7 separate regions of the Homo sapiens genome follow, and all the other regions are linked to region 7. Evidence: promoter capture Hi-C in 16 types of primary human blood cells and fetal thymus (Javierre and others, 2016). All regions are on one chromosome and are shown on one strand. The core of a region is centred on a gene start or on the middle of the fragment in contact, and the rest is flanking DNA. Distances in the headings are between cores, read along the strand shown. Region 1 holds the start of CCNB2 (cyclin B2). Region 2 overlaps ANXA2 (annexin A2). Region 3 overlaps RNF111 (ring finger protein 111). Region 4 overlaps RNF111 (ring finger protein 111). Region 5 overlaps RNF111 (ring finger protein 111). Region 6 overlaps RNF111 (ring finger protein 111). Region 7 holds the start of GTF2A2 (general transcription factor IIA subunit 2).

Evidence for each region. Contacts are between HindIII fragments. The CHiCAGO score rates a contact against its expected background, and 5 or more counts as called.
Region 1: the fragment with the promoter of CCNB2 here is called in contact with the fragment with the promoter of GTF2A2 in region 7 in 1 of 17 cell types (monocytes); the score reaches 5.4 in monocytes.
Region 2: a contact is called between a fragment that was not itself captured here and the fragment with the promoter of GTF2A2 in region 7, in 1 of 17 cell types (M2 macrophages). The highest score is 5.1, in M2 macrophages.
Region 3: a contact is called between a fragment that was not itself captured here and the fragment with the promoter of GTF2A2 in region 7, in 1 of 17 cell types (monocytes). The highest score is 6.5, in monocytes.
Region 4: a fragment that was not itself captured here is called in contact with the fragment with the promoter of GTF2A2 in region 7 in 1 of 17 cell types (monocytes); the score reaches 5.4 in monocytes.
Region 5: a contact is called between a fragment that was not itself captured here and the fragment with the promoter of GTF2A2 in region 7, in 4 of 17 cell types (monocytes, erythroblasts, total B cells and 1 more). The highest score is 6.8, in monocytes.
Region 6: a fragment that was not itself captured here is called in contact with the fragment with the promoter of GTF2A2 in region 7 in 1 of 17 cell types (neutrophils); the score reaches 5.1 in neutrophils.

What each region holds. Positions count from the first base shown.
Region 1 is chr15:59,102,715-59,106,825 of GRCh38, forward strand. CCNB2 (cyclin B2) reads left to right here and starts at 2,432. Exons shown (of 9, transcript NM_004701.4): 1 at 2,432-2,578. The coding sequence starts at 2,555. RefSeq lists an enhancer at 1,955-2,244. The HindIII fragment of the contact is 2,621 bases long and covers 1,700-4,111 here.
Region 2 is chr15:60,357,606-60,361,311 of GRCh38, forward strand. ANXA2 (annexin A2) reads right to left here. Exons shown (of 13, transcript NM_004039.3): 5 at 3,336-3,449. Among named protein-coding and RNA genes, the nearest start is that of ANXA2, 39 kb to the right of the region's middle. The HindIII fragment of the contact is 1,397 bases long and covers 1,577-2,973 here.
Region 3 is chr15:59,015,217-59,018,819 of GRCh38, forward strand. All of the region lies in intron 1 of RNF111 (ring finger protein 111), which reads left to right. Among named protein-coding and RNA genes, the nearest start is that of RNF111, 29 kb to the left of the region's middle. The HindIII fragment of the contact is 854 bases long and covers 1,589-2,442 here.
Region 4 is chr15:59,085,688-59,089,457 of GRCh38, forward strand. RNF111 (ring finger protein 111) reads left to right here. Exons shown (of 14, transcript NM_017610.8): 10 at 1-98. Among named protein-coding and RNA genes, the nearest start is that of CCNB2, 18 kb to the right of the region's middle. The HindIII fragment of the contact is 1,390 bases long and covers 938-2,327 here.
Region 5 is chr15:59,052,481-59,056,321 of GRCh38, forward strand. It overlaps RNF111 (ring finger protein 111), which reads left to right. Exons shown (of 14, transcript NM_017610.8): 4 at 3,202-3,365. Among named protein-coding and RNA genes, the nearest start is that of CCNB2, 51 kb to the right of the region's middle. The HindIII fragment of the contact is 2,904 bases long and covers 1-2,759 here.
Region 6 is chr15:58,998,277-59,001,841 of GRCh38, forward strand. All of the region lies in intron 1 of RNF111 (ring finger protein 111), which reads left to right. Among named protein-coding and RNA genes, the nearest start is that of RNF111, 12 kb to the left of the region's middle. The HindIII fragment of the contact is 747 bases long and covers 1,852-2,598 here.
Region 7 is chr15:59,655,560-59,659,547 of GRCh38, forward strand. It overlaps GTF2A2 (general transcription factor IIA subunit 2), which reads right to left and starts at 1,956. Exons shown (of 5, transcript NM_004492.3): 1 at 1,847-1,956. It overlaps BNIP2 (BCL2 interacting protein 2), which reads right to left. Exons shown (of 10, transcript NM_004330.4): 10 at 3,587-3,988. RefSeq lists an enhancer at 1,763-1,992. The HindIII fragment of the contact is 4,994 bases long and covers 961-3,988 here.

The DNA.
Region 1 (4,111 bases), core at 1,182-3,681, 550 kb before region 7:
ATTTTTAATAGAGACTGGTTTTTACCATGTTGGCTAGGCTGATCTTGAACTCCTGACCTCAAGTGATCCACCTGCCTCAGCATCCCAAAGTGCTGGGATTACAGGTGTGAGCCACCATGCCAGGCCTTCAGATTCTTAATGGAACCTGATATCATGGGTGTTAGATCACTCCTTTCCTCTTTTCCTTCTCTTTTCCCATTAATCTCACTTTTTCCTTTCCTGTTTCTTTTTCTGTCTTGATCTTCACCTGCTTCTTTTTACAAGGGCAACATTAATACTGTTCTCTTTGGACTGTGCTAATCCTCCCACTCTTCTGCTCAAGACTGGTGTCACACCTTGTTTTTCATTCTTAAATCTTACATACATCATAAGATCATTTATTAGATGAATATTTTTTAATTAATACACTTAAATTTTATTTCAGTAGCTTTTGGGATATAAGTGGCTTTCTGTGATGTGGGTGAATTATATAGTGGTGAATTCTGAGATTTTAGTGTGCCCATCACCTAGGTAGTGTATATTTTATCTAATATGTAGGTTTCTATCCCTGTCTCCCCTTCCACCCTCCCTCTTCTGAGTCTCTAAATTCCATTATATCACTGTGTTTGCCTTTGTATATTCACAGCTTAGCTCCCACTTACAAGTGAAAACATACGGTTTTTGGTTTTCCACTCCTGAGTTACTTCACTTAGAATAATGGCCTCTAGCTCCATCCAGGTTGCTGCAAAAGACATTATTTTGTTCCTTTTTATTGCTGAGTAGTATTCCATGGTGTATATATACCACATTTTCTGTACCCACTCGGTCGATGGGCACTTAGGTTGGCAATTGTGAATTGTGCTGCTGTAAACATACATGTGCAAGTGTCTTCTTCATATAATGACTTCTTTTCCTTTGGGTAGATACCCAGTAGTGGAATTGCTGGACCAAATGGTAGAACTACTTTTTGTTCTTTAAGGAATCACCATACTTTTTTCCATAGAAGTTGTACATTCCTACCAGCAGTGTTTAAGCATTCCCTTTTCCCCACATCCACGCCTACACTGTTTTTTGACTATTGTTTTTTGAGGTTTTTTTTCTTTTTTAGACAGGGTTTCAATGTGTTGCCCAGGCTGGAGTACTGTGGCACAATCATGGCTCACTGCAGCCTCAGACTCATGGGATCAAGGGATCCTCCTGCCCCAACACACGGCCCCCCGCCCCCCGCCCCCCGCCCCCCTCCCAGTACCTGGGACTACAGGTGCTCACCACTACACCCGGCTAATATTTGTATTTTTGTAGAGACGGGGTTTTGCCATGTTGCCCAGGCTGGTCTTGAACACCTGGGCTCAAATGATCTGCCCAACAGGCCTCCCAAAGTGCTGGGATTACAGGTGTGAGCCACTGCGCCCGGCCTTTTTTTCTGACTTTTTAATGATGGCCATTCTTGCAGGAGTAAGGTGGTATCTCCTTGTGGTATTAACTTGCATTTCTTCGATGATCAGTGATGTTGAGCATTTTTTCATGTATTTGTTGGCCATTTGAATATCTTTTGAGAAATATCTATTCATGTCCTTTGCCCATTTTTTGATGGCATTATTTTCTTTCTTGCTGATTTGAGTTCCTTCTAGATTCTGGACACTAGGCCTTTTTCCGATGCATAGTTTGCAAATATTTTCTCTTAATCTGTGGTTGTCTATTATTTCTTTTGATGTGCAGAAGCTTTTTAGTTTAATTAGGTCCCATTTATGTATTTTTGTTTTTGTTGCATTTGCTTTTGGGGTCTTAGACATGAATTCTTTGCTTGGGCTGATTATTAGACGAACATTTATTGAGCACCAACCATATACGACAAACGATGTACTAGGTGTTGGGAATACAATGGAGAACTTACATGAATCACCAGTCACACAAATCTCTTTTATCTTTTTTTTTTTTTTTTTGCCTTACTTGAGAATTTGGGTTTTTGAGTAAACGCCATTATTCTCTCTTTTTTTAAGCACACTTTTGCATCTCAACCACCTAACACACTGCATCCCTGAGCAACCCGGAGGGGCCGGTTCCTGCACCCAGGCCAACACAACTTAAACCCCAACACACCAGAAGAGGAATAAAGGCCAACCAACTTCCGCCCACCCACTACAAACGTCGAGAGAAATTCGTAGATGAGGCCTTGTCAAAATTCAGAGGCGTCCTACGTCTGCTTTCCCAATGAGACAGTTCCTTTTTGTTTGTCTCAGAGACTGGGGTTTTTTTTTTTTTAAAAGACTGTAGGCAGAAAAAACACCCCAACCGGCTGTTGTGACAATCAAACGTGTCTAAGAAAATTCAGCCAATGAGAGTGCGAGAGTGCATCTTGTGTTGGCCAATGAGAACAGCGACCCGTGCGCAGGGCCGCCCAATGGGGCGCAAGCGACGCGGTATTTGAATCCTGGAACAAGGCTACAGCGTCGAAGATCCCCAGCGCTGCGGGCTCGGAGAGCAGTCCTAACGGCGCCTCGTACGCTAGTGTCCTCCCTTTTCAGTCCGCGTCCCTCCCTGGGCCGGGCTGGCACTCTTGCCTTCCCCGTCCCTCATGGCGCTGCTCCGACGCCCGACGGTGAGTGTGCCCGGGGACCGCTCTCAGAGGCGAGTCCGTCGGCCCCACAGCTCCCCTGTCGCTTCTCTCATCTGCTCCGAGCTTCTCCGTCCCAACCGGGGCTGCTTTTCTCTTCTCCGGAGCTCACTGCTTCGCCCGCGTCCCTGGCCCTGCGGCCGGTCCTCTCCGGCCCGCCTTTCCCCGTCTGGATTCCGCCCTCCCCTAACCCCTCCCTGCCCCGGGGTGGGAGAAGTGTAGGAAAGCGCTTCCGAGATGGCGCCTGTCAAGTGAGCCCCCAGAGCACTAGGCCTAGTACTCAGCGAGCGATCCCCGAGTGCTCTTCATTGCTAGAGAGTTATCTACTTCCACGTTCCTGGGATTTCCCTCCCCCTTTCTTACAACTCCTTGCCAACTAAGGGACCTGTGATGGCGGCTGGGAGGAGGACTGGAAGGGTTCTGTAGGCAGTAAAGTGTACGGCGTGTTTCATCAGGCAACTGCCAGGCTGTTTTTCAGATTGTTCACATTTCTTTTTGTATGAGTTTCCCATTTATTTCGGCACGCTAAGTCTTCCATGCTACGTTCACTAATAAATGGGTTTGTCCCCTTAAAAAATTAATTTCTTTACTCAAATGTAACAGAGGTTTTTGAATATAATTTGGACCAATGTGGCAGACTGAGAGAAAAGGGTCCAAATTCATTTATTTCATCCTTGCAGAGATCAAAGTGTTATGGTGTTTTGGGTATTTTTCCTGTGGGCTTGAATTGTACCGGGACCTACTTTTTTCCTTTGCCGAAAGCTAGAGGGCCCTGACACACCTGAGTTCCATCATCTTGGCTATAAGGTTAGATAAAAGCTGCCAATTTTCCTATCCAGATGAATTTAAATTGAGTCACATTACCAGGCTTCTACCCATAAGCATTACATTTTCAAACACTTTTTCAGATTGGCAGTTGCTGCTGGAAGAAATTGAAGTGTGACTTTTGAGAATCCTAATAGATTGAATACATTTAGCATTTAATTAATATCCTTTTGTGGATCTAAGTCCAACTGACAAGTAATTTTTTATAATAATGTATTCTATAACGTTATTTAATAGTCAAAACCTTTCTGTTCAGGGAAGGCTTGAGTTTCCCTGGCCCCTCTCTCTGCCTGGTAGATCCACTCAAACCCCTTGTTGGGAGTTTTATTAGAGTCGGGACCCTGAACTCTCAGGGATAGGACATGCTGGTTTTTTGCTTTTTTCTTTTTTAATGAAATGTTTATCACTTCTATAATAAACTTTTTTTGGTATGAGTTGCTTTTCCTAGCAAGTTTTATTTCCAAGCACATTATGTCTAAAGCAGGTTAAGGTCAACTGACAATTTTTATTTCATACAATTCCAACCTTCCCTGAGTTTGGGAGCTAAAACTATATTACTCAAGAAAACTACTTCCATTCTAAATGTCCTTAATATAAGAGAAAATCCATTCTATGGCAACCTCATTTTAAAAAGCTGTAGTTCTAAAAGATCATGCATACAGGAGCATTTCTTATTTGTGAAATGGCATAAGA
Region 2 (3,706 bases), core at 1,025-3,524, 700 kb after region 7:
ACACAGTGAAACCCCATCTCTACTAAAAATACAAAAAATTAGCTGGGCATGGTAGCGGGCGCCTGTAGTCCCAGCTACCCTGGGAGGCTGAGGCAGGAGAATGGCGTGAACCTGGGAGGTGGAGCTTGCAGTGAGCCGAGATCGCGCCACTGCACTCCAGCCTGGACGACAGAGTAAGACCCCATCTCAAAAAAAAAAAAAAGTAGTGAATAGGAAGAGGCAGCAATAGAATATGCCAAAATACTAAAACTGGCAATTGCCTTTTGCTGTGGGTAGATAAAGTAACTTTTTCTTATTATTATTTTTCACTTTCTACAATAACCACTCACTATTTTAACAGATTAGAAATTTCTTTGTTAAACAATTCTCGCTAAAATAAAGGAATACAGAAATTTTATGTTGTCACTTGCAGCCAGCATTGTTAGAGTAAGTCTTTTTACCAGGCAAAGGTATAGTTAAGAAAAAATTTTTAGCTGCACTCTTTGAAATGTAAAATTGGGTTAATGTTAAAAATTTCATTCTTGTCCTTCCATTTTTGCTTGATAATTATGCACTCTTCAGGCACTTTAGGGAAGCAAAAAGAAATAATGAAGTGCCAAATAAACCTAGACACCAACACTTTATTAAGGAATAAGAATTTGATGGGTGATGTATTCAAATTTAATATATACACTTTTGAGCATGTCAGATAGCTTGAAAGGACTCAATGAAACATGTATTTCAAAGCTGGCTTCATGATCAAAGTCAAGATTTAATAATCAGGATTCTTTAATACTTGTCTTTCCGAATATGGAACTATCACTTTGAACTAAGTAGAATTACAACTGTTTAAAATGTAAATCAATTATAAGGTGTTAATACAATAAGAAACTTACCCACATGAAAAGCGTGTCAGCTATTAATTAAACTTATTAGCGTTTATATGCCCCGAAAAAGTAGTTTGTATAATATAAGCTAAGCCTCAGGTTAATGGTTAATTTTGAATTTTATTCTTCATCTAACCTTTGAGCCAATGGCTCTTCTTTCTGAGTTTTTAATCATGATTTGTAGAGGTTCCAGCAAAGCCAAAAATTCTCCCCTTGTTAGCAAAAGGTCCATACAGCATTCTACACAAATGTTATTAAATGACTACCGAGTATCTTTGAATATTTTGAGAGGCAGTTGTTCAATCTCAAGGATGATAGAAATATAGTCTAAAAATAACACACAGTGGGAGAAATGTTATATCCTGACATTGTAGAATTGCAAGACAGGCAGAATAATGTAAGATGTGTTTCCTTCCATCACTGATATACCAGTGGTAATATCTGAGAATTCCAATAGTGTTTTTATGTCTACATTCAAAGGTGACCTTGGCAATTTCCAAAGCCCGGCCCAAACTCTCCACAGACTGTCCACAATTCCTATCACAAGGGCAAATTCTACTGTAACATATGGCAGATACTGCCACCGGTACTGCCAGAAGTCAAAACAGATTTTTTTTTAAGCATAGTTCAGTTAATGTCACTTCAAGCTTTATGGATTTTGGACGGGTATTCAACTGTGATAGCTAATGGAAGAGCTGGCACAGGGTCAAAGCTTCAGCAGTTAAAGCACCTTCCATTGGGCCCAATTACATAGATTACAACAGTGACTGACAGCTCAAAAAGGTCTGTTTCAAGTCCCTAATACCTAGTAATAGATACCAGTAAAGCCACTCGAATCACAACTAAATAGATTCTTGATGAAAATAAGACAAACTGATCTGAAGTGTTGATGGTCAGAAGAAACCTAGGAGAGGCTGACTCATCCCTGCCTCCAAAGGTCCACAGACTCGGTTTTCAGGAGCGCTATTTTTATCAACCAGGATCATGAAATGTTGTCGACATTTTATCATTCTTAATGACGTCTTTTCTGCAGTACAGTCTACTTAGGAAACTCAGACAAGTCCGCTAAAATAAACTGAGCACAGCTTGGGCTAAGCTGAAGAACTAAAGGAAGAAAGAGACTTAACAACAAATCTTACAGCAGCCCTGAGCTATCAAATTCCAGGCTTTGGAGATGCCCAGTGTCCGAAGCACCCTCACTCTTGTGTTCTCTGGGAAAAGGATGACAACTGAACTGTGACATTAGCTCTGGTGACAGGCTTACAGCTCAGACTGTTCATAATTCAGGAACAGTGGCATCAGAGAAAACAGACTCGGAATAAAAAATCAAGACCAATGGTTTCCCTCATCTACAGCGCAGACTTTACCCATGTATATCAGCAGAGGGCAGTGTCGGACTGTTCAAATGCTGCAGACCCACACTAAGAAAAGGGTCCAAATGTGTTGCAGTACAACATACATTAATGTGTGTGCATCTATTGCATTTATATAAAACTTGATGTTGGCCAGGCGCGGTGGCTCACGCCTGTAATCCTAGCACTTTGGGAGGCCAAGGTGGGCAGATCACCTGAGGTCGGGAGTTTGAGACCAGCCTGACCAACATGGAGAAATCCCGTCTCTACTAAAAATACAAAATTAGCTGGGCGTAGTGGCGCATGCCTGTAATCCCAGCTACTCGGGATGCTGAGGCAGGAGAATCTCTTGAACCCGGGAGGCAGAGGTTGCAGTGAACTGAGATCGCGCCATTGCACTCCAGCCTGGGCAACAAGAGCGAAATCCATCTCAAAAAACAAAACAAAACAAAACAAAAAACTTGATATTTTAAGTATGCACAAAGTTCAGGAGGTTTCCAATCTACAGTTTTTACTTAATTTAACCTAAAATTCCAGGTTCAAAAGAACTTTACAAAAGAAAAACATAAAAGATAACGTGCATTGAGACTTCACAGTTACTTTCTCACAGGTACGATTCAGGTACGATTCTTCATCCAGAATTACCCCTTATATGCACTATGATGTTCTGATTCTGCCTGAATTTGAAACAAATGGTACTGACAGAGAGAGTATGGGAGGAAGAAACACCCACGAAAGGATGGGCAGAATTTGCAAGCTTCACTTAACAAAAGCTATGAGTTTTTTTTTCTTGCCTTAATATCACAACATATCTTTTTAAAGGAGGAAGTGTAATCAAGGAAGTAGTTTTCCCAAATGGTATTCCAATTGCCCAGGTGCTGAGTAGTAGCAGCTGGTAACTGACTTCTCAGCATCATGAAATTTCTTTACAGTCTTAAAACAAGTAATTGAAATATTTTTGGTACAAATCCTGAGACATATAACTTCAGTTCATTTTTAAAAAATGGTTCCAAATGAGAATTCAACAAAACTGAAAATCACCAAATTACACTCAGAAAGCTGTAATTCACAAAATTAATAGCAGATTTGACAGAGATGACATCTCACATGCATTTACCTTCATGGAAGCTTTTAGCTCAGAAGCGTCATACTGAGCAGGTGTCTTCAATAGGCCCAAAATCACCGTCTCCAGGTGGCCAGATAAGGCTGACTTCAGTGCTGATGCAAGTTCCTTCAAGATAACAGGCAATCATAAGGAAAATATTTATTTTACTTTAAAACTAGTGAGTAAAACAAAAGTAAGAGGGATCTTTTTGTGAAGCAGGTTGTGAGTCTTTGACCACTCCGGAGTCTTGGGTCAAACGCCCTCAACTGCATTCCCTTCAACAGACCCACATCTCAGAAACATAAACATCAGGCTTTGCTTCAACGAAATTCCTTAAAATCCAAGTTAATTTTGCCGTCTTCCCCGGTCAATAAAAGGAAACT
Region 3 (3,603 bases), core at 766-3,265, 640 kb before region 7:
TGATGGATAAGATAGAAGTCACTTATGTTTTCCTTATCATTTTGAAGGCTTTCTTTGCATACTAGCATGTTAGAGATATTGTCATGTTTTGTGTTTTGTATGTTTCTAAATTTTTATTTTATCATTCTTATGAATTCACATATAGTTTTACAATAGTATTGAAATATTTTATGCATTTTAATAAAAATGGAGATAATATTGTTAGTCACAATTGGCATGTTAATGTGGTGAAACTGCTAAAACTACTCTTTGCCCCCATCACTGTAAGAGCTTCCTCCGTAGTCTTTCTGACTTTCCCTCTAGCCTGTTCCCTTCAGCTCCTCAGGTAAAGTCTTCCTAAAACTAGGTTAAACAGAAACCTATAATCCCTCACTCTGATAATTTGACCCTAGCTTATTCTCCCCTACTAAAAAAAAAAAAAGAACAAAAGAACCTACAGCCCCAAGCATTAGAGTATTTAGATGTTGCCATTTCTTAGCATTGTTTGAAGTGAATATTCTTCGCCCACCGTCACCCTGTGCATCCTTCATGGTTTGACTTGGATGTGACTTTCTTTATGAAGCCATTATCAGAGTCCTTAATTGCCTCGTTTTGTTCCTACAGAGTGCTTTTATTTATAGCATGTTTATAACGTATTCTGGTTATTTATTTATTTATTCGAGACAGGTTCTCACGCCCAGGTTGGAGTGCAGTGGCGTGATCTTGGCCCACTGCAACCTCTGCCCCTGGGCTCAAGTGATCCTCCCACCTCAGCCTCCTGAGTAGCTGGGACTCCAGGTGCACCCCACCACACCTAGATAACTTTTGTATTTTTAGTAGAGACAGGGTTTTGCCATGTTTTGACCTCCTAGCTCAAGCAGTCTGCCCACCTTGGCCTCCAAGAGTGCTAGGATTACAGGCATGAGTCACTGCTCCTGGCCAATTTTGGTTAAAAAATATATATATGTATATATATATAGTTTTTTTTTTTTAGAGATAGAGTCTTGCTCTGTTGCCAGGCTGGAGTGCAGTGGCATGATTTTGGCTCACTGCAACCTCCACCTCCTGGATTCAAGCGATTCTCCTGCCTCAGCCACTCGAGTAGCTGGGACTACAGGCACGCACCACCACGCCCAGCTGATTTCTGTATTTTTAGTAGAGATGGGGTTTCACCATGTTGGCCAGGATGGTCTTGATCTCTTGACTTCGTGATCTGCCCACTTTGGCCTAATTATTTATATTCTGTAATTCTTTCCATCATCCTAAATTGTGAGCTTCTTGAAGGATGGGAACCTGTATTTTCTCTCTCTGCCCACAGATCCAGCATATAAAGTAGTTATTCTGTAATTATTTGAATAATTGAGCATATACCATATTAGTCAACATTTTTCATCTTGCTCGGCCCACCATAATTTTGTTCTACCCTACCTATTTCAAACAGTATTTCCTGCCTCTCACAAGGATGTGCTCACTGCTTCAGTGACATTGTTTTCTCCAAAGAGTTCTGTATAGCAGGGTTCCCCAACCCCTGGGCCACGGACTGGTACCCATCTGTGGCCTATTAGGAACTAGGCCATGTACCAGTAGGTGAGTGGTGGATGAGTAGTGAAGCTTCATCTATATTTACAGCCAGTCCCTGTCACTTACATTACTGCTTGAGTTCTGCTTCCTGTCAGATCAGCAGCGGCATTCTTGTAGGAGCATGAACCCTATTGTGAACTGCATGTGAGGGATCTAGGTTGCTTGCTCCTTACGAGAATCTAATGCCTGATGATCTGTCACTGTCTCCCATCACCCCCAGTTGGGACCATCTAGTTGCAGGAGAGCAAGCTCAGGGCTCCCACTGATTCTATATTACGGTGAATTGTATAATATTATATATTGCAATGCAATGATAATAGAAACAAAGTGCACAATAAATGTACTCGGATCATCTCAAACCACACCCACCCACCCCCACCCTGGGTCTGTGGAAAAATTGTCTTCTACGAATCCGTTCCCTGGTGCCAAAAAGGTTGGAAACCGCTGCTGTGTAGGCCACGATAATTTTTATTTTTGTATTTTTAAGTTTGATTTTCCAGAGATCGTAAATGCGTCATTCAGCATATGTGACAATGCTTATTCATAAGAGAAACACCAAGCCATTTAATAGCATTGACAAAAAAATTAATAGTTCAGTATGTAAAATGTGCTGCTGTAAAGATTTAAGAGCTTATTTCGAAATATGGTTTAATTTTACATTTACCTGTTACAGATTGTTAAATTTTGAAGACATGTTGAAGCAGCCATCTTTTCTGTATATTTATAAAAACATCAATTGTCTTTAGGTTTGGCTTCTATCACTTTAAAAGAGAGAACTCTTCAGTTCCAATCTCCAAGGAAATCTGGAAGCCACTTAAAGTTCAGTTTTGGAAACAGGAAGTTAAAATAACAGAAATCTCTAAGAGTAGTTTGTAAGTTTGAAGCTTTGAAAGTTGACAGATTTATTACTTGAATTATCAAGAACAAAAGGTCCTGGAGGTTTGTCTTCCAGGTTTGTTACATTATTTGTTGAACTCTTTTTTTTTTTTTTTTTTTTTGAGATGGAGTTTCGCTCTTGTTGTCCAGGCTAGAGTGCAATGGCACAATCTCGGCTCTCTGCAACCTCCACTTCCTGGGTTCAAACGATTCTCCTGCTTCAGCCTCCCGAGTAGCTGGGATTACAGGCGCCTGCCATCATGCCCAGCTAATTTTTTGTATTTTTGGTAGAGACGGGGTTTCATCATGTTGGCCAGGCTGGTCTCGAACTCCTGACCTCAGGTGACCCACCTGCCTCAGCCTCCCAAAGCGCTGGGATTATAGGTATGAGGCACCACGCCCGGCCTATTTGTTGAGCTCTTATAGACTACTTTCCATTAATGCAGCAATCATAATTATTACACTTTTAATGAAGAAAGATTTTGTGAAATGGTTTGATAAATTATTATCATTTTCGAGCATTAAAATTTATTTGTAAAGATGGGTTCAAAAACAACATGCCTAGATTTGTAGACTAACATCAGTAACTAAAAATCATTTCTCACATTTGACAATTCCATTCAAATCTGCTAACGGTCACTGCCATTTCTGAGTTTCTGCCCTATTCTGTCATTAAGGTGTCCAGGATTGGTGGTCATTTCTGGTCACTTAAGAAATTTTATGCCTAGCCAAGATTCCTGTAAAAATTGTGCTTGCATATATTTGATTTGTTTGTGTAGAAATCTGTTGTCAACAAAGTTGTGTTCTAATATAGTGAAAAATTTAAATATATTATGTTCTCATAATTTATTTCCTTAAAAAATCTTTAATTTCAAAATTGGTAAATGGTTACTTTTTAGAAAAAAAACAAACTATATATACAGAAACTTATAAAGGGTAAAAGACCCCCACCCAGTGCTATAAATTTCTACCCTATTGTTTCACTCCCAAACTGTTAAGTGTGTATTTTACAAATGCATATATTAATATAAGTTGTTTTACGAAGAAGAATCCTATAATAGCAGACTTACTTGTAGTCCGTTTAAAGAAAATGATCCATACTTTCCATAACAGTTTGTACAAATCCTGCCTGATTTTAAAAGGCTGCTTAGCAGTTAATTTTATGTA
Region 4 (3,770 bases), core at 383-2,882, 570 kb before region 7:
CAGCTACTTATACACCTGGTGCATTGCATCCTCACTTGGCCCATTATCACGCACCTCCTCGACTTCATCACTTACAATTAGGAGCTCTTCCTTTAATGGTAAAATGGAAAATTTTCAAAATTTTGACATGTTCTAAAAGTTCCTTTTCTAAGTATTTTATTGGAAATACTTCACTATATTAATATAGATGTTTTAATAGAATTTGAGAGTAATCTTGTTAGCTAAAATTGTGCTATAAAAAGGTATTAGATGTATTAAAATCTGCACGTATAATTTGCATCATAACATGTACTCTTAATGTACGACATGACAAAAAAGTGTGGGGTTTTTTGTATACCAAGATACTCTTAATCCACTGTCAGGAGTATACTGTGCTTCAGTTATTTTGCCGTAAGTGGTAATAGATCCGTTCTGATGCAGTCATACTTGATTTTCTTTTTTCTTTTTTTTTCGACAGAGTCTCACTCTGTCACCCAGGCTGGAGTGCAGTAGTATGATCTCAGCTCACTGCAACCTCCACCTCCTGGGTTCAAGTGATTCTCCTGCCTCAGCCTCCCAAGTAGCTGGGATTACAGGCACGTGCCACCATGCCTGGCTAATTTTTGTATTTTTAATAGAGATGGGGTTTCACCATTTGGCCAGGCTGGTCTCAAACTCCTGGCCTCAAGTGATCTGCCCACCTTGGCCTCCCAAAGTGCTGGGATTACAGGCTTGAGCCAGGGCACCCAGCCTGATTTTCTAATCTGCAGAAAGATTATACTAATTCTCTACATCTGATTTAAGCAGGTTCAGATTTTGTAAAGTGCTAAAGGACAAGTTCAGCAAAACATACATTGCGTTTGCTGTTTGTATTACATACTTGTTATATAAATGGTACAGAAAAGGGAATAGTTTTGTGTTGTTGTGGGTAGAGGCACTGCAGGAAAGCTTTCAGAGAAGCTTTCTGGTACATGTGACTTCTAAGCAGACTGGATTATGGAATGGTGCTCTTGCAGAGGTTACAGCATGTAAAGATGTAGCAAATAGCACAAGCACTGGGAACTCCAAGTAAGCTGGTGTTTCTAATTTTAGGAGTGAGGGTCAGGCAGCAGTGAGAAATAAAACTGTTCTACCAAGAAACTGGAACTCAGGAACCATTGAAGGGGAAATGTCCTGATCAAATTTATGATTTTAGAGTTATTTAATCAGATTATAGTTAGATCACCTCCTCAGTTATGTGGAAAAATAGATGTAAATGTGGGAAACCAGTTAGGACATTATAGTAGAAGAGGTAAATATTGATGAATGCCTGAATGAAGGCAATTGTAGTTGGCATAAAAATGATGATACACATTTGAGAGATATTTAGGGTTTGGGTGAAGGGGTTAGGTGAGTTAGGTCTTGGATGTACTGAATCTCTATGAAAGTTGAATGTCCAATAGGAAGTTAAGCCTGTGGTCTGGATTTCCAAAGATATTTGGGTTAAAGATATGTTTTGATCTGTCAGTATATGGAGGTAATGAATCCATGGAAGAGGATTAGGTTTTCAGGAAAAATGTGCAGAGTGACAAGAGGGTGAAAAAACCTTAGAGAATGACAATACTGTATTTAAATGATAATACTATGCTTTGAACAAAGGATTCTGAGAACTGGCTTGAAAAGTTGAGAAACACAGTTAAAATAATATCAGAAAATACAGTTACCACTTGAACAATGCAGAGGTTAGGGGTGTTGACCCTCCTCACAGTCGAAAATCAGAGTATAACTTTTGAGTTCCTAAAATCTTAACTACTAATAGTCTATTGTTGATCGGAAGCCTTACTGCTAAAATAAACAGTTGATCAACACATATTCTGTATGTTATAAGTACGTGATAATGATAGTCTACAATAGATAATGATAGTTTACAATAAAGTAGAAAAAAATGTTAAGAAAATTATAAGGAAGGGAAAATACATTTACTATTCGTTAAGTGAAAGTGTATCATTATAAAGGTCTCTTTCCTTATTGTCTTCACATTGAGTAAGCTGAAGAGTAGGAAAAGGAGGGATTCATCTTGCTGTCTCTGGGGTGGCAGAGGTGGCAGAAAATCTACATGTAAGCAGACCCATGCAGTTCAAACCCATTTTATGTTGTTCAAGGGTGAACTGTAATATGGTCAGTATGGTGTCATCACAAAAAAATAAAGTTTGAAAAGTATTGAAAGCATTTGGCAGTAGAGTGGTTATTGGTCTTTTGTGTCAGAATGGTTCAGTAATGGTGAGTGATGTAGATGGGGCACCTCTTAGATTACGTACGGTAAGGAAGTGAAAACATGGAGACAGTGAATATAGCCTTCTTGCTTTATAAGCTTGGCTGTGAAGGGAAAGTGAAGGAAACCCCTATTTGGTTGGCAGTAATTCCAGGATTAGTAGAGAATTTAGGTTTGGAAAAACTTAAGGTATTTTCAGGTTTAAGACAGAAAACCATTAGAGAGGAATTGTTTGAAGATATTGAAGAGAGAGAGGCTTGGTGGGAAGTAGTGAAGTAAGCATGACCCAGGGTGAACAGGTGAAGGGAGGAGTGGGTGATAAGGATTGAGTTCGAATAGGAGAAAAGCTCATCCATAAAGGCTGGAGGAAAGAGACTAGGGAGGAGAGGCTTTTCAGGGTAAGTGAAGATTTAGATAATTTGGGATGCAGGAGTTCCTTTCCGATTTCTTTGAAGATGTTTAGGAGGTTGGGTTATCTGCTGAGTAGTAATGATCTTGGTTATAAGAAAAGTTGTAAACAATTTAAGTAATAGGCTATTGAAGGTTAAAAGTTATTGCTTATTTAAATTCTTTTCCACATATGAAGTGTCCGTTAAAGCTATAAATTCTGCTTAAAGTATGTTGTGATTCAGTGTAGGCTAATTAAAAAGTAATGTCAGAGATTTATTTATAAAGATGGAAGAATGGTGCTGTATCTCAGAAATGCCCTTTCCTAATACTCTCACTATGCATGGCAGTTATGATCTATACAGTTGCTGCAAACACTGAATTAGCAAATATGGGACCCTTGCAAACCTCTGTTCACAACTAATCAGTGTATAACCTTTTTTATGTGTGTTTCTGCTTAAAGACAACTTTAAAAAATATTGTAGAATCATTAACATTGAACTCATAGCCAACAACACTGTAACTCATGCGTGAATGAAACTTATTCTCTCCATAAGGTGTATGACAGCCTTCTTTGCTTAGGAACACTAGACAGCACTTCAGCTCTATGCTTGGGTGCCATTTTAAACAACACAATCACCAACAAAAAGCACAAAACTGTGAAAAACGTGGCACTAAACAGTCTGCAAACAAGACACTGGTTTATAGTAGGAGCTCAAATACGGCAGAGCCCTGTTCTACCTCAGCTGGGAACAGAGTTGCATGTTGGGCAACTGCAATTTTTTGCCACCGGTCATATCCACGAATGACTCTGAAAGCACAAGTGTTGATTATGGGGTTACAAGTAAATTTTAGCCTGTGGGTCAGTTCACACATATGTAATCCATAAATAATGAAGATTGACTGTAACTAACAAAAAATTAGAAAACAGTGTTAAAAGTTTCCCTAATAGAATCAAGCAAAAAAGGCATAGGGTACTTTGGCTGTTAGGAAGCTTAACAGAAGTGAAGTAAAAAACTTATCTTGAAGTCGAATTTTGTTGGAAAATTGTGTGCATTTTTTGTTGTTGTTTTAATAAAGCTCTCTGAAATGGACAGGATCTTAAGACAATTTTACTCTTTTCAAGTTTGAGCTACTAAGAGCCTCAGGCTTA
Region 5 (3,841 bases), core at 58-2,557, 600 kb before region 7:
TAAACATATTTGTGCTGCAGATATTTGCATTCTTTTTATTTATTTATTTTTGAGACCCAGTTTGAGTATGCATATATCAGATTAGTGGATTTTTTTTTTTTTTTTTTTTTTGGTAAGAGATAGAATATTGCTATGTTACCCAGGCTGGACTTCTACCCCTTGGCTCAAGTGATTCTCCTGTCTCATTCTCCATAGTAGCTAGGACTGTAGGCACATGTCACTAAGCCTGTCTAGATTTGTCCTTTTCAAAGCAGGCTGCATTAAACTCACCTGGAGAGATAATAAAATAAAGCTATATTGTTGCCCAGACTCTTTCCCATACTTGAACTAGAATTTTAGAGGTTAGTCTTTTTAAAAGCACCCCAAGTATACAATGAGAGTTAAGAGTTAATGCTCTGAATAAACAATAATTTTACTTAGTGTTTTATAAAATTGTGTTTTTTAATGATATGGAGAATTGATCTGCTTTGAAATTTAGATGTGAATAATACATAAATATTGGGGATGGTACCAAATTAAAAATGAAAAAATATTAAGGGGTATTGATGTTGAAATAGCCCTTTCTGTTAGAATCTACTTGTTTCAATATGTTACTCATTGATACCAGTGAAACTTGTGCTGTTACTGTGTTAGGGCACCCTAATTCAAAACATATGTTTTGATTCTTTTTCCTTCACTCAGTAATTTTATCGGTGCTCTGAACTAACACATTAATGAAACATCCTTATCTGTTTTTATAAATAACTGGAAAAGACATTGCCCTATTGCGGAATCACTTTGACTCTCCCTCCAAAATATCAACTCCTAACATTGCATTCATCTTATACTTTAGATGATTATAAGTATTGGTAATAATAGCAATAAAGAGTTGCTTTGTTACATTTGATACACCCAACTAATAATCTAACGGATGAATCTTAATTTTTGTGTTGGAACGAATTTAGAAGTGCATTTGCTTATTGCATGTTAATATGTTACTGATTTTAAAAGTATATATTCATATTTCTGACATCTGTTACAAACACTTAGAACATGCTTTTCCACTTGCCATTTTAGCATCGAAGTGCTACTTCTAAAGGCATGGAAGTGAGCATTCTATAACATATACTTGTTTGTTTTAATTTTATATTATTTTCCCCAACTCTGAGTAAAACTGAAAACCAGTGTTATGTACCACACCTATCCTCTGACCGTGCATAGTGCTTGGTACAACATTGACTCAATTTTTATGAGCTGTAAGGACTACTGAAATTACAGACCTATTTTTCCTTGTAGGACTAGAGATCTTGTTTTGGACATGGTTGATGTCAAGCAGATGCATTTACCTGAGTTAATAGGCAGTGATCTTGAAAAAGACCCACAGTGTACATGACCCATTGTTATATCTCTTATTGTTATTAAGAGATATTAATTTTGTTACTGTTTAGCTGGCTTTTTGCCCTTTAGTTTATTTTACTTAATTATTTATTTTTTGAGACAGAGTCTCCCTCTGTCACCCAGGCTGGAGGGCAGTGGCGCCATCTTGGCTCACCGCAGCCTCCATCTCCTGGGTTCAAGCAATCCTCCTCCCTCAGCCTTGTGAGTAGCTGGGATTACAGGCATGAGCCACCACACCTGGCTAATTTTTTTTGTATTTTTAGTAGAGACGGGGTTTCAGCATATTAGCCAGGCTGGTCTCGAACTCCTGACCTTGTGATCCACCCGCCTCGGCCTCCCAAAGTGCTAGGATTACAGGCGTGAGCCACCACGCCTGGCCTGGCCCTTTCATTTAAGAGAGTATTTCTTTGTTTTAGAGTCTTTTGTGTCAGGATTTGACAGTTGCTACTAATCATAGTGGCCACTAATACCTCCTTGAGACTTCCTCATACATTCATGTTTTTTTGCAGTTGCTCCATCTAGTACAATATGATGCTTTCACAAAAGTACTGCAAAGTGGACCTATAACTTCCTTCAGCTATTAACAGCTTCCCAGAGATAATAGACTACTCAGTCTCATCATAGACTCTTGATTTTTCAAGAATTTTAAATGGTGGTATCTTTCCTCATACAAAACCATTTTATCCCAAGACATGGCTATCTTGGCTCAAGCTATACCACAACTGTTTCTGATATGTACTATCCTATGTTGACAGTGGCTCGGTAATTAACTTTATACTCCTTCTTAAGAATTTTATTTTAGAATTTGAACTTTTTAAACTCTGGGTTCTATAATCGTTGAAGTTCAAGTTGGGCTGAAAATGTTGAGGCCATTTTCAGCCCACTTTGACCTTTGGAGTTCTCTTCTTAGTGGTTAAGCACCCACCCCCAATGACCTTTTATATTACAGATATTTTCTGTAAATGCTGACAATAAGGTTATAAGCAGTTTTATATTTAGTTTGAACAGGAGAAAGCCCTTGTGTTTTATTGGCCTCACCTTTCTAAAAGATTTATTTTTTTATCCTGGAGCCTTAGGACTGCATATTCTACATATTATCCCTGTATGTCCTTAGTCCAAATCATTATAGTGAGTCCTTCAAAGTATATACACCTGTAAGTAAATTTAGAACAGTGTAATGCCACACACATACTTAAATGAAGTTAGATGTTTAGGGTTCACAGTCACGTGTTTTAGAAGCATAAACTAGCTCACGCAAGTAATATTTCTTAGGGCTACCAAACTAGTAAACTAGCCACAATGTCCTTACCTCTACACATCAGGAAATCTCCCTGGTGCCTGTTTATTTTTTTTGTTTTGTTTTCTTTTATGGCAATACTAGAAGCTTAGCTTGGTTTAGGACTCCCAAAGGAATGTTTTGCAAATCTATCCTGAGCTAAACATACAAGACCTTGTGGATATTATTAAATGTGTAGGGTGTTATTTTTATTCCTTTACCTATGGTGAGTAATTTTAGCTATTAACAGAAAATGTAAATAGTTTATTATAACCTGGGTAAATTCTCAAAAGTAACCATGGAAGAGAGAGTAGCATTCTTGAAACAGAATCCTGTATTTTACACTAATGATTGGTACAACATAGTATTTCTTATATTCTTAGGTCAATTAGTTTACCGAGTGCCAGTCATGATTTTTAATTACGATTATTTCTTTGGAGAAATCTTGTATGAAAAACTTAACATTTAGTAAGAAAGGCTTATGGGTTTTTGTGGTGACTAAAAATTCTTTATTTATATTTACTAACTTAATATTGATGTCATTTAAGGTCTCGTTCAACCCTTGGACACTCCAGATCTCATTGGAGCCAGGGTTCCAGTTCTCATGCAAGTCGGCCACAGGAGCCACGGAACCGCAGTAGGATTTCTACTGTTATACAGCCCTTGAGGCAGAATGCAGCAGAAGTTGTGGACCTTACCGTTGATGAAGATGGTAAATTGAAGTAGTAACAGTAGAAAATTATGAAAGGAGTTTGATAAAAGGAAATCTCTTAATATGCTAGAAACTCCTCCTGCTTACTGGTAATATATTATTAAACTACAGGGAAATTGTCAGATTTTTTAATCTCGTTTTTAATTGATATCCTAGGCTTGTAAATTTACATAAAATTCTTTGTGGTTATTGTTTCAATACTTGATAGCTATTTTCTCAGGAAAAAATATTTTTGTAAGTGGTAGTTTGAGGTTAGCTCAAACTAGTTTAGTTTGATTTGTAATAATGATTGTCTTTAACTTGCCATGAAAAAGTAGAAGCAGTACTTTTTAAATATAAACACAAAAGCAGTATAACTGAATTTTGAATGACTAATACTGGCTGTTTGAAATGTCTAACTTTACTTTTAAAAATTATGTTATCCTTCAATATTATCGGTACCTTTTTGTGCTGCTCATTTTTTGTATTTTATTTTG
Region 6 (3,565 bases), core at 975-3,474, 660 kb before region 7:
TATAAATGCAGGTTTGTTACATAGGTAAACTTGTGTCATAGAGTTTGTTGTACAGATTATTTCACCACCCAGGTATTAAGCCTAGTACCTGTTAGTTATTTTTCCTTATCCTCTCCCTCCTCCCACCCTCCACACTCTGAAAGATTACAGTGAGTGTTCTTCCCCTCATTGTGTCCGTATGTTCTTGGGAAGGTTGTTACAGGGTCTTCCATTGCATACCAAAGTATGATGCTTATTTTGAGAAAAGAACTTGTTTGATTTAGTTATAAAATGGATTAGCAAACTAGTCACTTCTTTCATGGAACACATTTTTACTTGAAAGAAGCAAACTGTAGTTGTGTGAACTTGGATATTTGTACATATTTTCTCAAAAATAAATGAAGTGAGCCGTTCACTTCAAGAAAAACAAATGACAGAATTTATTGCCAAAATAAAATTCAAACTTTCAAGCAAAAATTAGAATTGTGGAAAACGCCTATCAGTCACTGTAATTTTGGCAGTTTCTCAGGACTTTGCAATGAGATTGGTTGTGTTATTAACAAAATTTATTTTTTTACTGTTACATAATGAAATGTGTCATGTTTGAAAGAGGTGCGTAACTTGGTGAAACAATATTTTTCAGATGACCATGATGTTACAAAGTCATGTCTGGGTGAAAGATCTATGTAAAGTGCAGTATCGAGCAGTTGTTTTTTCACTGATAGTATGAGGTTTCATTGATATGGTTTCAAATTCCACATTGCAATTAAGTTCAAACTGCCTTTGTAAAGTTTTGGGGTAGTATCAAAGAGGAATAACACCCACACTTACCTGAAAAGGTTATTAAATATACTACTCCCTTTTTCAACTACATATTTGTGTGAAACTGGATTTTCTTATAATTTAACCAGAACAGCATATCATGATAAATGGAATACAGATGCAGATGTGACAATCCAGTTTTCTTCTGTTAAGCTAGTCATTAGAGAGATTTGCAAAAAATGTATAGCATTACCGCTCTTATTAAAGTTTTGAAAATATTTTAATAAAAGTTACTTATATTAGATATAATGGGTTTGCAGTGGGGTTTGTTTGTTTTTGAGACGGAGTCACACTGTCACCCAGGCTGGAGTGCAGTGGTGCAATCTCAGTTCACTGCAATCTCCGCCCCCCAGGTTCAAGCAATTCTGCTGCCTCAGCCTCCCGAGTAGCTGGGATTACAGGCATGCACCATCACACCCGGCTAATTTTTGTATTTTTAGTAGAGACAGGGTTTCACTATGTTTCCCAGGCTGGTCTCGAACTCCTGACCTCAGGTGATCCGCCCACCTCAGCCTCCTCAAGTGCTGGGATTACAGGTGTCAGCCACTGTGCCCGGCCTATTACTGCAGTTTTAAAATAATACATTTTAAAGCATTTATGAGTTTTACTTTCTAATAGGGTAAGGGTATTAGTTCGTTCTCACACTGCTATAAATAACTGAGACTGGGTAATTTATAAAGAAAAGGGGTTTAATTGGCTCAAGGTTCCATAGGTTTTATAGGAAGCGTGGCAGCATCTGCTTCTGGGGAGGCCTCTGAGCTTTTACTCATGGTAGAGGGCAAAGCAAGAGTAGGTGTCTTACATGGCAGGAGCAGGAGAGAAGGGGGAAGTGCCACACAATTTTAAAAAACCACATCTCATGAGAACTCCATAATGAGAACAGCACCAAAGGGATGGTGCTGAACCATTAGAAATTGCCCAGATAATCCAGTCACCTCCAGGCAGGCCCCACCTCCAACAATGGGAATTACACTTTGACCTGAGATTTGGTTGAGGACACAGATCCAGACCATATCAATAAGTATCAGTAGATATAACCCATATAATAAAAGCTTTTTCAGATCTTCCAGTGATTTTTTTTTTCCCTTTTTTTTTTTTTTTTTTGAGACAGGGTCTCTCTCTGTTACCCAGGCTAGAGTGCAGTGGTGAGATCTTAGTTCACTACATTCTCTGCCTCCTGGGCTCAGGCAGTCCTCCCACTTCAGCCTCCCAAGTAGCTGGGACTACAGGCATGTACCACCACACTTGGCTCATTTTTCTATTTTTAGTAGAGACGGGTTTCACCATGTTGTCCAGGCTGATCTCAAACTGCTAGGCACCCGGCCCATTTTTAAGATTATGAAGGACCTCAGGACCGGGCCTGGTGGCTCACATCTGTAATTGCAGCACTTTGGGAGGCCGAGGCAGGCGGATCACCTGAGGTCAGGAATTTGAGACCAGCCTGGCCAACTTGGGGAAACCCTGTCTCTACGAAAAATACAAAACAGCCAGGTATGGTGGCGGGCGCCTATAATCCTAGCTATTCGGGAGGCTGAGGCACGAGAATTGCTTGAACTGGGAGGCAGATGTTTCAGTGAGCCAAGATGGCACCACTCCGCTCCATCCTGGGTGACAGAGCTGAACTCCGTCTCAAAAAAAAAAAAAAAAGATAACTGCTGCTGCAGAGAATTAACCAATTTTTGATGGTAGATGAGCCCACTATTCTCCTTTCATCCCATCTTTCAGTTATGTCAGAATTTTTGATTATTTTAAAGAACAATTCAGCAAATGCCTATTGAATGCCAAATATGTGTTCTAAGCTTTTGGGCACATAGTAGTGATCAAAACGAAATCTGCTCTGGTGGGGAAACAAAGTTGTAGATGGTCATTGTGGAAATAAGTGAGCTGGAAAAGGAAGATAGAGGGTGGGGTTAACTTTTTATTTTTTTGCCTTTCCACAAAAATTTTAATGTTGGTATTAACTACTAATGTGAGGTGGTCAGGGAAGGTATCATGGATAAGGAAACATTTGAACACAGATGTAAAGGAAGTGAATGAGTGAGCCTCGTGGTTATCTGGGGGAAGAGCATTCAAGGCAGCGTGACTAGCCATAGCATGGTTGACCTGCTTGAGAAATAGCCTAGAAACTACTGGGGCTTTAGTGGAGTAGGTGAGGAGGAGAATGGTGGTCTCTGAGAACAGAGGTATGAAGGGTTCATGTTCTTCAGTTATATGAAATATTTACATTGCCTTTGATAACTTCTTAGCCATTTTTTACCTCTCTTCTCTTTTCTGGATTTCCTGTCAATCAGGTAACAGGATTCTATTGCCATCTCTACTTTGCCTGCTATTAGTTCCTATTTTTGTTGTTGATTAAAAAAAAATTCTTTTTACTATCAGTTTAGTGGGGATTGGAGGGAGATTTGAAATAAAGGTCTTGTATAACTTACCATGTTTTTAAAAAATGTGAACTTTTGCTTTTGATAATCATGACAGTTTTACCAGGAAAAAGTTATATTAGTGACATGGAAATGGGCTCTCCACATTTGGCGAATAGGTTCACTTTAGGAAGACTAAGTCTATTTTGACAGCTAGGTTCTTTAATAGAAAATACTTAATACTTTTATTAAGTGAAGAAAATCATGTGATATAAGATTTGTTACAGAACACCTACAAAACATACATTATCATGGGATTTTATTTTATTTTTTATGAAATCATGTTTAAAGAACTAAGTACAGTAGTCCTCCCTTATCCATGAGGGATACAGTCCAAGACCCCCAGT
Region 7 (3,988 bases), core at 706-3,205:
GGTTGATCCCGTTTTCGCTAAACTCTTAATATCACAGGACACAGTCCTTAGGCCTCTGCTGCTTTCCGTCTACACCCATTCCTTACGGATAACATTTATTCTCATGGTTTAAGTACCACTGCTGATGATCCCCAAATTCATATAGCATAGAACTTCTCACTCCTGAATCTAGCTGCCTACTCAACATCTCTATTTGTTATCTTTTGCATCGTGGCTTAAAGAACTCCATACTTCTACGAGCTTGGGCAAAACCTTTGATTTCATCCTCCACTCCCTCTATCTCACTCTCCATATCCAATTCCTAGCAAATACTGTAAGGCCTACCTTCAAAATGCATTCAGAATCCAACCACTTCTCACCATCCCTACGGTTATCACCCTGACCTGGGCCACTCTCGTCATCTGGATTACTGCAAAAATCTCCTAAATGATTTCCCTGCTTCTACACTCACCCCTACACTCTAATCACAACTCACAGCCAGGGTGATCTTCTAAAACTTCAGTTACAACATACCTCTCCTCTATTCAAAATCTCCCATGGCTTCTATCAGCCTTTACAATGATCCGGCTACCATGATCTCTTTGACTTTATCTTCTTGTCCCTCCACCCCCAAAACTCTTGCTCATCCCTCTCCAGATACACTGGCTTCCTTGCTATTCCTCAAACATGACAGGCCTAAAAGCATTTGTATTGGCTTTCCTATCTGCCTGAATGCTCTTCCTGATATTTACTTAGCAAATTTTCTTAATTCCTTCAAGTCTTTGCTCAAATAACACCTACTAAATGAGGCTCAAACTGACCACCGTCATCTTTAAAATACCAGTTCCCACCTCCACTCTGGAACTTTCCCGTACTCCTTTATATTTCTCTTTTTTTTTTTGATGGCACCATCACTTTCTAACACCATTATATATTTTATTTTCTGCATCCTCTAATAGAATGTAAGCTCCATGAGGGCAAAGCTTTTTATTTTGTTCACTTAAGTAAAATAGGCGTCTAGAACAGTACCTGGCACACAATAGGAGCCAAAAAAAAATCTGTTCAGTAAACGAAGGCAAATATCAGTAAGTATAATATGCGTGTGGGAGGGGAGAGGGGGTTAAAAAGGGCAAGAAGTCCCAATAGGTAGATAAAAACTCCACAGAGTAGGAATACAGAATCGTGCATCGTGTCCCATTTGACAAATTTTTGAGTTTATCTAGAAAATAGCCCTGCGTTAAACGTTTGTTAAAAGTGCTGATTTCAATGTTCTTACATTCTTTAAAAATTCCTTGTTAAGTGTTCTAATCTTTTAGATGTGGTATCAGCCACAGAAATTTATTGTTCCCTTCTTGTTTTGCAGTTCAGAAAATTAGAAGTCAAATTCGGAAGTAACTCGTCCTAGCATTTTTTGATTAAACCACCAAGTTTAAAATTCGTTCCTTTTGTCGGAGTTCGCACGAAGAAAGTTGGAAGGCAGACTTCAAACAACAAGCTACAAAGCACAGGAATGAGACATTTAAAAAATGCTCTCCGAAATTCGGCAAAACTCACAGGGCGCTAGTGGATGCTTTAAGACATTCACCTGGCTGAAAATACGGTGGTGGGCTGAAGACCTCCCCTAGGTGGGTTCTGTGGGCGCCCCGTGAACGACGAGCCTCCCGCCACGGGACGCGACCATCACCGCCGCCTCGCCGCCCTTCTCCGGTGCCGGCCGCGGGGCCTTGCCGGCAACGGTCGGTAACGGGCAGATCCCAGGAGCGAAGGGCCCTCAGAGACTACCCCACCAACGCACTCCGACTCCGGGGGGGCGGCAGGGAGCGCGGCCCTGCTTCCCTCCCTAACCCTGCCCTCCCTAACCCACTACCTGTGGGGAAGGCGCTTCCCTCCGCGGAGCGGACAGAAGCCGCCACGAGCCCGGCAGGAGGTTCCTACTTCTCCGACCACCTCTCCAGCCGCCGCAGAAACCGCAGAACTGAGCTGACGACCCGGAAGTGCTCGCGGAACCTGGAAGTGACACCCCGCCCGAGGGACGGGAGGCCCCGCCCAGCCCTGCTCTCGCCCGCCACTCAAGCCTTGTCAGGGAAGGGCGTGGAGAGGGAAGGAGGGGCGTCGGGCTGGAGCTTGAAGCCTTAAAGTGGTGGACAGGCGCTCTGCTCGAGTAATTCACCAGGTTTACTAAATCGTTCCTAAGGGAATTATAATTTTTAGAGACTAATCTTCTCCATTGTTAGATGCACAATTTAAGAAATGTAGGGCATTCATATTTCATGCCGGAAGTGTGTTCAGGGTAACAGTGTTGAAGACCTTGCAGACGAATTCTGAAAAGATTATAGCAGGGGCCGGGCGCGGTGGCGCACGCCTTAATCCCAGCACTTTGGGAGGCTGAGGCGGGTCGATCACCGGAGGTCAGGAGTTCGCGACCAGCATAATATGGTGAAATCCTGTCTCTACTAAATACAAAAAATTAGGCAGGCGTGGTGGCGCATGCCTGTAATTCGAGCTACTTGGGAGGCTGAGACAGGAGAATGGCTTGTACCTGGGAGGCGGAGGTTGCAGTCAGCTGAGATCGCGCCATTGCACTCCAGCCTGGGAAACAAGAGCGAAACTCCGTCTCAAAAAAAAAAAAAAAAAAAAAAATTATAGCAGGGTAAGCAGGGTATCTTCTTTACCCCTCGAAACAGGGCTGCAGGCAAAGTTTTTAGTTTGTGACCAGTTCATGAAGAACTTTAATTTGGGAGAAGTTATATTTAAAATTTGCATCTAATATGCAAGATAAATACTTCACTATAAATTTCAAGTTTGCAAAATCACAAATTGTTTTAGGTGTCAGGGTGCATGGTACACTAACTGGCTTAAACCCAGCAGTCATGTGTAGAGCAGTTTATCCTACAAAATAGCTGAATAGTGATTAAAGAGTATGTGCAAAACAACAACAACAAAACCACAAAAAACACCAAGTGGTATCAGCTGGAACCTCTGAGCAGGTCTATGAACTAAACAAGTTCTTCTTATTTAAGCCATGTTTTCGGCCAGGGGCGGTGGCTCATGCCTGTAATCCCAGCACTTTGGGAGGCCGAGGTGAGCGAATCACCTGAGGTCAGGAATTCGAGACCAGCCTCAACGTGGAGAAACCCCGTCTCTACTAAAATACAAAAAAAATTTCGCTGGGCGTGTTGGTGCATGCCTGTAATCCCAGCTACTCGGGAGGCGGAGGCAGGAGAATTGCTTGAACCTGGGAGGCGGAGGTTGCGGTGAGCCAAGATGGCGCCATTGCACTCCAGCCTGGGCAACAAGAGCGAAACTGTCTCAAAAAAAAAAAAAAAAAAAAAAAGCCATGTTTTCATTTTAAGCCACTCATGGTTTCATCCTTGGATTCCCCATTAATTAAAAAAAAATCTCAACTATGAAACACAAAGTTTCATTATTGTTTTGATGTTAAAATAAAGCAGGCTGAACTCTCTAATCCCCAAAGAATAGAAGCACTTAGACTATAGAAAGGGAAACAAGTGTAAAGGTCTGAAATTATTTAAGAGGTTTATAGGATAATTCAAAGCAAAAATTTAGTAGCATAATGAAAGAAAAATGTGATAAAAAGACAAAGACGAACGTTCCAATTAATTTATTTAAATTCATTAATGTTGCAAAAAATATGATGTGCAACAAATCAAGACACAAGTTATATTCCTAACAGGTCAAAGAAAATATTACATCTCCTTAGTAAATCATGACCAACTCTGGTATTTCTTACAGGGACCACATTAATATCTTGCACACACAGACATCAGAACTGAATTTCTGACAGTACTCGGCTGGGCAACATCATCTTAAGAGTAGGAAAATATCACAGTACATTAATTTTGTCTAAATGACAGCAATGAACCTGTGGTAACAAAAGTATTTTTGGAATAGATATCAAAGTGTGTTAATGTCTTAACAAACTCTGAATTGTGTTCTGTGTGAATAGTGCTCCAAGGGCTGTGCAAGTCAGTGGCCCTGAACATCATCA